Linked DNA regions of Homo sapiens: all the other regions are linked to region 2. The links are contacts of gene promoters, found by promoter capture Hi-C in human tissues and cell types (Jung and others, 2019). All regions are on one chromosome and are shown on one strand. Each heading gives the region's core, a stretch centred on a gene start or on the middle of the fragment in contact. The rest is flanking DNA. Distances are from core to core; before and after follow the strand shown.

Region 1 (3,074 bases), core at 28-2,527, 95 kb before region 2:
GTGGGGTTGGGGGAGTGGGGAGGGATAGCATTAGGAGATATACCTAATGTAAATGACGAGTTAATGGGTGCAGTACACCAACATGGCACATGTATACAGATGTAACAAACCTGCATGTTGTGCACATGCACCCTAGAACTTAAAGTATGATGTATAATTTAAAAAATAATAAGTGGATTCCATTTAAGTTTTTTTTTTTTTTTTGAGATGAAGTCTCACTCTGTCACCCAGGCTGGAGTGCAGTGGCACAATCTTGGATTACTGCAACCTCCACCTCCCAGGTTTAAGCGATTCTCCTGCCTCAGCCTCCCAAGTAGATGGGATTACAGGCATGTGCCACCATGCCTGGCTAAATATTTTTTTTTTTTGTATTTTTAGTAGAGATGGGGTTTCATCATGTTGGCCAGGCTGGTCTCCAATCCCTGACCTCAAATGATCAACCCACCTAGGCTTCCCAAAGTGCTGGGATTATAGGCATGAGCCATAAGATTTTAGTAGGTGGCCCAAAACTGACTGTTGTTTCTCTTTTTAATTATTGTACATACCAAAATAATGAAAAGAGTAAATTTCAAATGTCTCACTATAAAAAATGTTAGGCAAGTGAGGTGATAGACAAGTTAATGATGGGTTAATGTGTTTGATTTAATCAATCCACCTTGTATACAAACATCACATCACATTGTACACCATAAATGTATACAATAATGTATCCATCAAAAATAACAATAAAAACTGAAAAAAATATTAAATATACCTTGGAATCCTGATACTATTTGGACGACATCTTCATATACCATTAGAGTGGCAGAGCGTTCTGGAAGCAGGCCAAGGCTCAGAGAGGAAAATACTGCAGGAAAAAGAAATGGATAGAAGGGGATTTTAATAGTCATATTTAAGTGCCTACTCTAATTTTTGGGATACTCTGCAGTTTTTGTATTTTCTGATTTCAAATCAATTAATACAATTAATTTTTAGTTAGATTAGCAAAAGACCTTCAAAATGCTACAAGTGTATTGCAGTATCTCATATAACAATTACTTGCCTTACAATGGTCATCTTTTTTCATTTGTTAGAAGTTTTCTTTTTTTTTTCTTTTTTCTGAGACGGACTCTCGCTTGTCACCAGGCTGGAATGCAGTGGCGCAATCTCAGCTCACTCTAACCTCCGCCTCCCAGGTTCAAGCGATTCTCCTGCCTCAGACTCCCGAGTAGCTGAGATTACAGGCACCTGCCACCATGCCCAGATAATTTTTGCATTTTTGGTAGATACAGGGTTTTACTGTGTTGGCGAAGCTGGTCTCGAACTCCTGACTTCGTGATCCACCTGCCTTGGCCTCCCAAAGTGTTGGGATTACAGGCGTGAGCCACTGCGCCCAGCCAGAAGTTTTCAGTAAAGTAACTAAGCCTCTTCACATTAGGAGTATATGAAAGTTATCATGTATACACTACATGAATGTAGAATACATAATGTTAGATGTTAACATTAAGAATGGCTTTAAAAATACGTGTCTAGGTTAATGTGTACCTCATGGTAAAAGAATATTCCCCCAATCCTGGGAACTAATAACATGATAGAAATTGTGCTTTTCATTTTTATTTTTTTGAGACACGGTCTCACTCTGTCACTCAGGCTGGAGTGCAGTGGCACGGTTAGAACTCACTGTAGCCTCGACCTCCCAGGCTCAAGTATCCCTGCTGCCTTAGTCTCTCAAATAGTTGGGACCATGGGTGTGCACCACTGCACCCAGCTAATTTTCAAAATTTTTTGTAGAGACAGGGTCTCCATATGTTGCCCAGGTTACTCTCAAACTCCTGGGCTCAAGCAATCCTTCCCACCTTTGCCTTCCAAAGTCCTGGGATTATAGGCTAGAGCCACTGCACCTAGCCAAGTTATGCTATTTTCAAACTCTTGCTTAAGTACCTGGATTTCTAAAAAATTTTAGAAACCCCACAAATTTCTGGGTAAAACATGAATTTAAGAGAAAAACAAATAAATGCATTATAGAATAATAATCATCACTCACATTACTGAACCTTTACTAACAGGACAAACAGTATTCTAAGTGCTTTAATTTTAGTAATTTATTTAAGCTTCAAAACAGCTCTATCACTTAGGCATTATTATTATTATTTTTGAGACAGAGTTTCACTCTTGTTGCCCAGGCTGGAGTGCAATCGCGTGATCTTGGCTCACTGCAACCTCCGCCTCGCAGGTTCAAGTGATTCTCCTGCCTCAGCCTCCCGAATAGCTGGGATTACAGGCACCTGCCACCATGCCCAGCTAATGTTTTAAAAAATATTTTTAGTAGAGACAGGGTTTCACCATGTTGGCCAGGCTGGTTTCAAACTCCTGACCTCAAGTGATCCATCTGCCTTGGCCTCCCAAACTGCTAGGATTACAGGCATCAGCCAACGTACCTGGCATCTGAAGTAGGCATTATTAACATGCCCATTTCACAGGTAAGGAAACAGGTTTACAGATGAGGAAGTAACTCACCCAATATCCCACAGCTAATAAATGCCAGGGCTACGATTTGAACTCTGGAGTTCTCAACCACTATGAGACATGGAAAAGTTGGCCTAGAGAGGTAAATGACATTCTGGGAAAACATCAGGATCTAGAAGATAAGTGCTAAGAAGATCAGTCACTTCACAGTGCTGGCTCTTTTTTTTTGAGATGCAGTTTCGCTCTTGCTACCCAGGCTGGAGTGCAGTGGTGCAATCTTGGCTCACTCCAGCCTCTGCCTCCCACGTTCAAGCTATCCTCCTGCCACAGCCTCCTGAGTAGCTGGAATTACAGGTGTGCATCACCATGCCTGGCTAATTGTGTATTTTTAGTAGTGATGGGGTTTCGTCACATTGGCCAGGCTGGTCTCAAATTCCTGGCCTCAAGTGATCTGCCCTCCTCGGCCTCCCAAAGTGCTGGGATTACAGGCATGAGCCACCGTGCCCGGGTAAGCAGTGCTGGCTCTTAGTGCCATAGGGCACCAGTGAGTTGGCCGTGGATGTGACCTCTTTTCACTCAGCCTCCACACAGTCAATTTATTTAGCTGTCATCATATACGAGGCTCAGAT
Region 2 (3,263 bases), core at 534-3,033:
GCTCTTCCATGATATGCATTACTAAAATTATACACAATTCATAACGGTCATATTCTACCATGGCCATAGAAGCAGCAATGCATTTAAGATATACCAGGAAATGATACTGCAAGTGCCAGAATATGAAAACCTTCAACTCAACATGTAGGCAACAAACTCAACCCAACAGAGTGTTGGCAGAGCCTTTCCTCCCCGTAGCAACATCGTGGTGGAAGCCCGGGCGTCTCTGCTCCCAGGCACCCTGAGCATGTTAGCCGAGGAAAGGGGGTTCCAGCAAGGAGACCCTCGGATGCAGCACTCCTCGTTTCTTTGGCCTGCAGGGCCAACTTTGCAGGACACACACCCTTCTGAGGGGACAGGCCTCGGGCTCGGAATCCCGGGGTTCTGCAGGGCTGCAGGGAGCTCCCTCGCAGAGACCTGAGCCCCCGGCAAGAGTCCAGGCAGCGGTGCCCTGGGTGAATGCAGAGGCTCATCTGCGGGCCTCAGTGGCCCTTTTGAAAACGCCAGCAACAGAGGAGTCCTCGACGCTGTCCCCACAAAAATGTGCCAAGCAAGCCTCAGGGTGGGTGTGGGGGACTCCCCTCAAAAAACGCTGATTTTAAAAACAAAAGACAGGCTCGTGGCCATTCTCAGAGGCGACCACGTTACTCCCAGGGCTGGAAAGCAGATTTGTGGAGGCCAAAGACGAGACAAAAGGCACGAGCTGGCGACAAACTGATCTGGAAAGGATTTTTCTTTTTTTTTTTTTTTTTTTTGGTGAGCGATGAGGGCCTCCCAGTTCAATTCTTTCTTCCCTTACAGAGAAGACTCATGGGCCGCTGAGCAAATCCCTTATGGTCTGGAAGAGACGTCAGATAGGCAGGGGGAGAGAACCCCCCAAACTTTCCCAAACTGCGGCAGGCTAGTGGCTAGTGGCGGCAGCGGACCTCGGGGCCCCGGGACACAGGGGGCACCCCGGGGCGTCAGCCACCCCCTCCCGCCACAACAAAAGGCCCCAGCGCAGCCCAGGAGCTGGGACTTCCCAGACCCGAGCCCGGCGTGGGGAGCCGGGAGCGCGATCGGGCGGCGCGCCCTGGGCGGCCCCTCTGTCCGCGGCGACATGGGAGACAGAGCCGCGTGTCCGAGGCGCGGCATAAAGGGGACCCCCGGGCGCATCCAGACGAGCCCCCGCCGCAGCGGCGACAGCAGCTGGAGCTGCCCGCGCCCCCGCCCGACCCAGCCCCCGATCCCCGGCCCCCGAAGCCTCCGCCCGGGTCACCCCGCGTCGCCGGCCCGCGCCGCCCCCTCGGGAGCGCGTTGCGGGTGCTGCAGGCCCGGAGGCTCCCGATGCGGCTCGGGCTGCGTCGCCACCACGCGGCCCGGGACCCTCCCGCCGCCGCCGCCGCCGCCGCCGCCTCCGCGCCAGGCCCGGCGCGACACAAAGCCCCCGGCCCCGCCGCCGCCCACTGACCTTGGGCTCCGGCGCCGGGCTCCCGCAGCGTCTTGGTCACCGCCTTCCAGACGTGGCAGCCCAGCAGGCACAGCAGCAGCGTCGCGGACCTGCTCATCTCCGCCGCGGGGCCGGCGGCGGCTCGGGCTCGCCGAGAGCGGGCCGGGCGGCGGCGCGTCACGGGCGGCCGGGCGCCGCGCCCCCCTCCATGTCGCTGGCTCCGCGCGCCGGGCCCGCCGCCCGATTGGCCCGGCCCCGCCGCCCCGGCCGCTCCCTCCCGCGCCCCGCGCCGGGTTTCCCCGAAGAGCCGCGGCGGCGGCGGCGGCGGCGGCTGCTGCTGCTCCGCCAGCTCCTTAACCCCTTCCTGCCTCGCCCGCCGCCGCCGCCGCTGCCCGCGCCCAGGCCCCGGGCCCGTGGTGCCACCTGGCGGCTGCGGCGCCGAGGGCGCCCCCGCCCGGCGCCGCTGCGTCGCGCCCCCAGCCCGACCCCCGGCGACACTGCCCCGGCGCGCCCCATCCCCGCAGCCCCGCAGAAGAGCCAGACCTGCCTTTCAGGGCGGAGCCCTTTTCATCACACCAGGTCACCCAAGGGGCCGCAGGAGACATTGTATCTGGGTGTGACCCCCCCACCAGGTGCCATCCTAATGTAGTTGTGTCCCCCAACGTAGATTTCACACCCAGTGTTAAAGATCCGCAAAAACACTCCCCAAGCCAGTATAGACTGCAGTAGGCCTGCAGTACCTACGTGTTGGCGGGTGGACAGCTTCAGGAGGAATGGTACTTGGATGGTTCTAGGGGTTAGGGTGGGGAGGAAATCCACATCTTTTGAGGCCCTAGGTGCTTTAAAACTTTCTGTCCTATTAAAGAAAAAAGACTATTCCATGACACGTGTGAAAGCACAGCAAAGAAGACCCTCTTTGGAACCATCGCAATAGGTATAAGCCCTACCATGGGATTCTGCAGTCGGGGAGAAAGGTTGGGTTCAACTCTGAATACAGCAGGAACAAGTGGGGATTTATAACCGAGGACCAGGGTGGGATGCAGGGAATGAAAAATTATAAGAGGAAACATCAGGGGGAAGGGGGATTCTTGAAAGTCAGACATCCCCTGGCAGGGCTGGGCAGGACAGGGCGGATGGGGAAGCTGATCAGATATCCAGGGTGGAGGGTTCTTGGTAAACTGACTTAGCAGGGTTCTTCCTGAAAGCAGATTTTACAAGGAAGGGCACAACTGAGCCTAGAAGAAGGTTCCGGAGCCTGACTGTAGTTCGGTCAAGCAGAGACTCTTTGTCCATCTTCACAATACATGATCTAAGAGGTAGTTAGCATTATCCCCCCCATTCACAGATGAGAAAAGAGGCTAAAGAGGGTTAAGGAATTTGTCCAAAAGTGCATACCTGGTCAGTGGCAGAGCCAAAATTCTAATAAAACAGTCAGTCTGACCCCAAAATTGAAACTCTTCACAAAAACCTCCAGACTTGGCTGGGTGTGATGGTTCATGCCTATAATCCCAACACTTTGGGAGGCTGAGGTAGGTGGATGGCCTGAGTTCAGGAGTTAAGAGACCAGCTGGGCCAACATGGTGAAACCCTGTCTCTACCAAAAATACAAAAAAATTAACCAGGCATAGTGGCCCATGCCTGTGGTCCCAACTACTCAGGAGGCTGAGGTGGGAGGATCGCTTGAACCTGGGAGTGGGGAGGTTGCAGTGAGCCAAGATCGTGCCACTGCACTCCAGCCTGGATGACAGACTGAGACCCCGTCTCAAAAAAAAAAAAAAAAAAAAATCAAAAAATAAAACCACCAAAAAAACCACACACAAAACAAAACCAAACC
Region 3 (3,359 bases), core at 837-3,336, 65 kb before region 2:
ATCATAAACTACTGCTCGGTGAGCATGACTTTCACCTGCAGCCTGTCAATCCAGAGCCCACTCCCCAGCCACATCCCCTAGGGGCTCTTATATTCCAGGCCACCCTTCCCTGCCCTGATGACGCCAGGGCCAGGTACCAGTCAACTGGGGTGAGCTCCTCTGCCCCAGAACCCATCAAAATTAGTCAAATTAGCCAACCCTAAACCTGCTGCGGCCGCATACCCTGCCTTGTCCATTCCTTCCTGAAAAAACCTCAATAAAGGGTCCTGCCCACATTTTCTCCTGCTCCCTCAGCCTCCTGGCTGGCCCTGGTGTTTCTCTGTGTGGCCCTGCCTGTTATGGTGTAGCCCTCCTCTTGGGAACTGTGAGCAACTCTTCTTTTCTTTTAACTTCCCTCCCTCTCTCCCTCTCTCTCTGTCTTTTTCTCTCTTCAGAGTCTCGCTCTGTTGCCCAGGCTAGAGTGCACTGGCGCAATCTTGGCTCACTGCAACCTCTGCCTTCCAGGTTCAAGCAATTCTCCTGCCTCAGCCTCCCAAGTAGCTGGGATTCCAGGCATGCGCCACCACGTCTGGCTAATTTTTGTATTTAACAGAGATGGAGTTTCCCATGTTGGTCATGCTGGTCTCAAACTCCTGACCTCAAGTGATACGCCTGCCTCAGCCTCCTTCCAAAGTGCTGGGATTACAGGCATGAGCCACAGCACCCGGCCAAGTAACTATCTTCCCTGTAGCTGCCCATCCTCTACTGGTCTGTTGGCCTCACCACACCTGAATAATAATAAAACTTATAATTTAAAATAGTAGATGACTCAAGGTTTTCCCGGTGAAGATACGCCATGAACAAGGTACTGGTGCAGAACTAGTTTTATTTATACTTGCTGCAAGGAAGATCTTTGTAACAGTTTAGGCTGCATGAATAAACAGTAAATTCTAGATCACAGAAAATATTAATCTGGAGAGAGGAAATGTCTGGTTAGGTAAGCACAATAAAAGACTCAGTATCAGACCTGATGAACCTCTCACGTCACCTTCCCGACTCTATAATGTCTATAAAAGAACTGAATGGAGGGCTGGGTGCCATGGCTCATGCCTATAATCCCAGTAACTCAGGAGGCTGAGGTGGGAGGATTGCTTGAGGCCAGGAGTTCAAGACCAGCCTGGGTGAGACCCATCTTTACATAAAATTAAAAGCTTAGCCTGGTGTGGTGTGCATGCCTGTAGTCCCAGTTACTCAGGGGGCTTAGGTGGGAAAATGGCTTGAGGTCAGGAGTTTGAGGCTGCAGTGAGAAGTGATCATACCACTGTACTCCAGCCTGGGTGACAGAGTGAGATCTGGCTAAAAAAAAAAAAAAAAAAAAAAAAGATCAGAAGAGTGAATGAAAAATTTCAGACTTTGGACAGCAAAAAATCACTGAAGATTTTTGAGCAGGGAAGTGGTTAATTGTACATCCAATATGCAAATTGGACTGCCACAGAAGGACACTGTGGGGTGAACCCATGGTGAAAGTCCAGCCCTAAAATCGGAGAAAGGCTTGCTGGTGCCTATGTGCCTGTGCACGAACACGGGGACAGACATAGGAGGAAGACTAACGCCAAACTTCAGATCCTCTCTCAACACAGGCGAGGAGGGTGGCCTGGACAGAGCTCTTAGTGGAACTGCTCTCAAAATATCATCAGAACGGGGTCTGACAGCATGGACAAGATCATGCAAAGGAATCGCACAAATAGAGCATGATCCATGGATAACATGATAAATGTATCACGGGCATGGGTCTCGTGTGCAACTCGACCGTATGTTTCTTGCTGGGGCAAGCCCCTATCTTCACATTCAGATGTGCATTTACCTGAATAATGTGATTGAGAAGATTTTAAGTTACAGATTTCAATTCAGGTGTTTCACTGAGGCTATGACAGGTAAACTGTTTGGGGTTCTTCTTTGAAAAAGTCAAATTAAAATATTTAAATTGTGCAGAGGAAAAAATGCTTACATCATTGTCATCAATATCAATGTAATTTATTTAACCCTTTTAGGATTAGCCATTCTTTTTTTTTTTTTGAGAGACAGTCTTGCTCTGTCACCCAGGCTGTAGTGCAGTGGCACAATCTTGACTCACTGCCACCTCTGCCTCCTGGGTTCAAGCGATTCTCCTGACTCAGTCTCTCGAGTAGCTGGGACTACAGGCATGCCCCACCATGCCTGGCTAATTTTGTGTATTTTTAGTATAGACGGGGTTTCACCATGTTGGCCAGGCTGGTCTCAAACTGCTGACCTCAGGTGATCCACCCGCCTCAGCCTCCCAAAGTGCTGGGATTATAGGCGTGAGCCACTGAGCCTGGCATAGCCATTCTTTTTCAATGGACTGTCACGACCATCAGATTTAAGGTGAAGAATCTCAAGGATGACCACCCAAAAATATAAATGAGGGCAGTGACTGAAAGCCACATCTTAAGTACAACTATCTGCAGCCAGAGAAGCAGCAGTTCCATCCAGAATCCTTTTCTTCTACTCAATTAGGTCCTATCCACCTTCTCACCGGAACTAAGTCCAGCTGACATCCATCATGACTAACACTCCTGCCAGACCAAGCCTCCTAGAGCACGGCTTTCCATCACGCCATGTGCCCTTCAAAAACACTCAGTGATTCTGAAGACACGGAACCCTCTCCAGGGCTTTCGGTCACTGCAGTTCACAGGTGCGGATATCCACTTACATCCAGGGTACTGTGGAAAGGCTCTCTGTTGGGTGACCTTATTTCCTGCTTCTATGTGCTGACCCAGGAGCATGAGGATGACACCATCAGCCCACCCGCAAGAGGGCACATACCTTGATTTGTTTTTCAGAAAGTTGGAATCTGCACAAACCCTGCAAATTCCCATTTGCTTGCAGGGTGCAAATGCATGTCATATACACAGGCCATATGGGGGCTGAACCTGCAACCCTGACACGACACAGACGTGATTCTAACAGGCTGAGCTAACAGGCCATACACAGGATCAAATAGTGAAGATTCCATCTTAAAGTAGAAAGCGACTTGAGGCCGGGTGCAGTGGCTCACACCTGTAATCACTGCATTTTGGAAGGTTGAGGCGGGTGGATCACCTGAGGTCAGGAGTTCGAGACCAGCCTGGCCAACATGGTGAAACATCGTCTCTACTAAAAACACAGCAAATTAGCCAGGCATGGTGGCAGGCTTCTGTAATCCCAACTACTCAGGAGGCTGAGGCAGGAGAATCGCTTGTATTCGGGAGGCAGAGGTTGCAGTGAGCCGAGATTGCACCACTGCACTCCAGCCTGGGCAACAAGAGTGAAACTCCATTTCAAAAAAAAAAAAAAAAAAAAAAAATGCGACTTGAAGAAGA

The links. Contacts are between HindIII fragments. The study calls those that stand out against the background at their distance.
Region 1: a contact is called between a fragment that was not itself captured here and the fragment with the promoter of FAM171A1 in region 2, in 2 of the 25 tissues and cell types used here (dorsolateral prefrontal cortex and mesenchymal stem cells).
Region 3: a fragment that was not itself captured here is called in contact with the fragment with the promoter of FAM171A1 in region 2 in 4 of the 25 tissues and cell types used here (dorsolateral prefrontal cortex, heart right ventricle, liver and 1 more).

The regions. Positions count from the first base shown.
Region 1 is chr10:15,275,101-15,278,174 of GRCh38, forward strand. It overlaps FAM171A1 (family with sequence similarity 171 member A1), which reads right to left. Exons shown (of 8, transcript NM_001010924.2): 3 at 755-847. Among named protein-coding and RNA genes, the nearest start is that of FAM171A1-AS1, 68 kb to the left of the region's middle. The HindIII fragment of the contact is 3,779 bases long and covers 1-3,074 here.
Region 2 is chr10:15,369,506-15,372,768 of GRCh38, forward strand. It overlaps FAM171A1 (family with sequence similarity 171 member A1), which reads right to left and starts at 1,784. Exons shown (of 8, transcript NM_001010924.2): 1 at 1,451-1,784. The coding sequence starts at 1,547. RefSeq lists silencers at 1,541-1,770, 1,781-1,830. The HindIII fragment of the contact is 11,349 bases long and covers 1-3,263 here.
Region 3 is chr10:15,304,328-15,307,686 of GRCh38, forward strand. All of the region lies in intron 1 of FAM171A1 (family with sequence similarity 171 member A1), which reads right to left. Among named protein-coding and RNA genes, the nearest start is that of FAM171A1, 65 kb to the right of the region's middle. The HindIII fragment of the contact is 8,166 bases long and covers 1-3,359 here.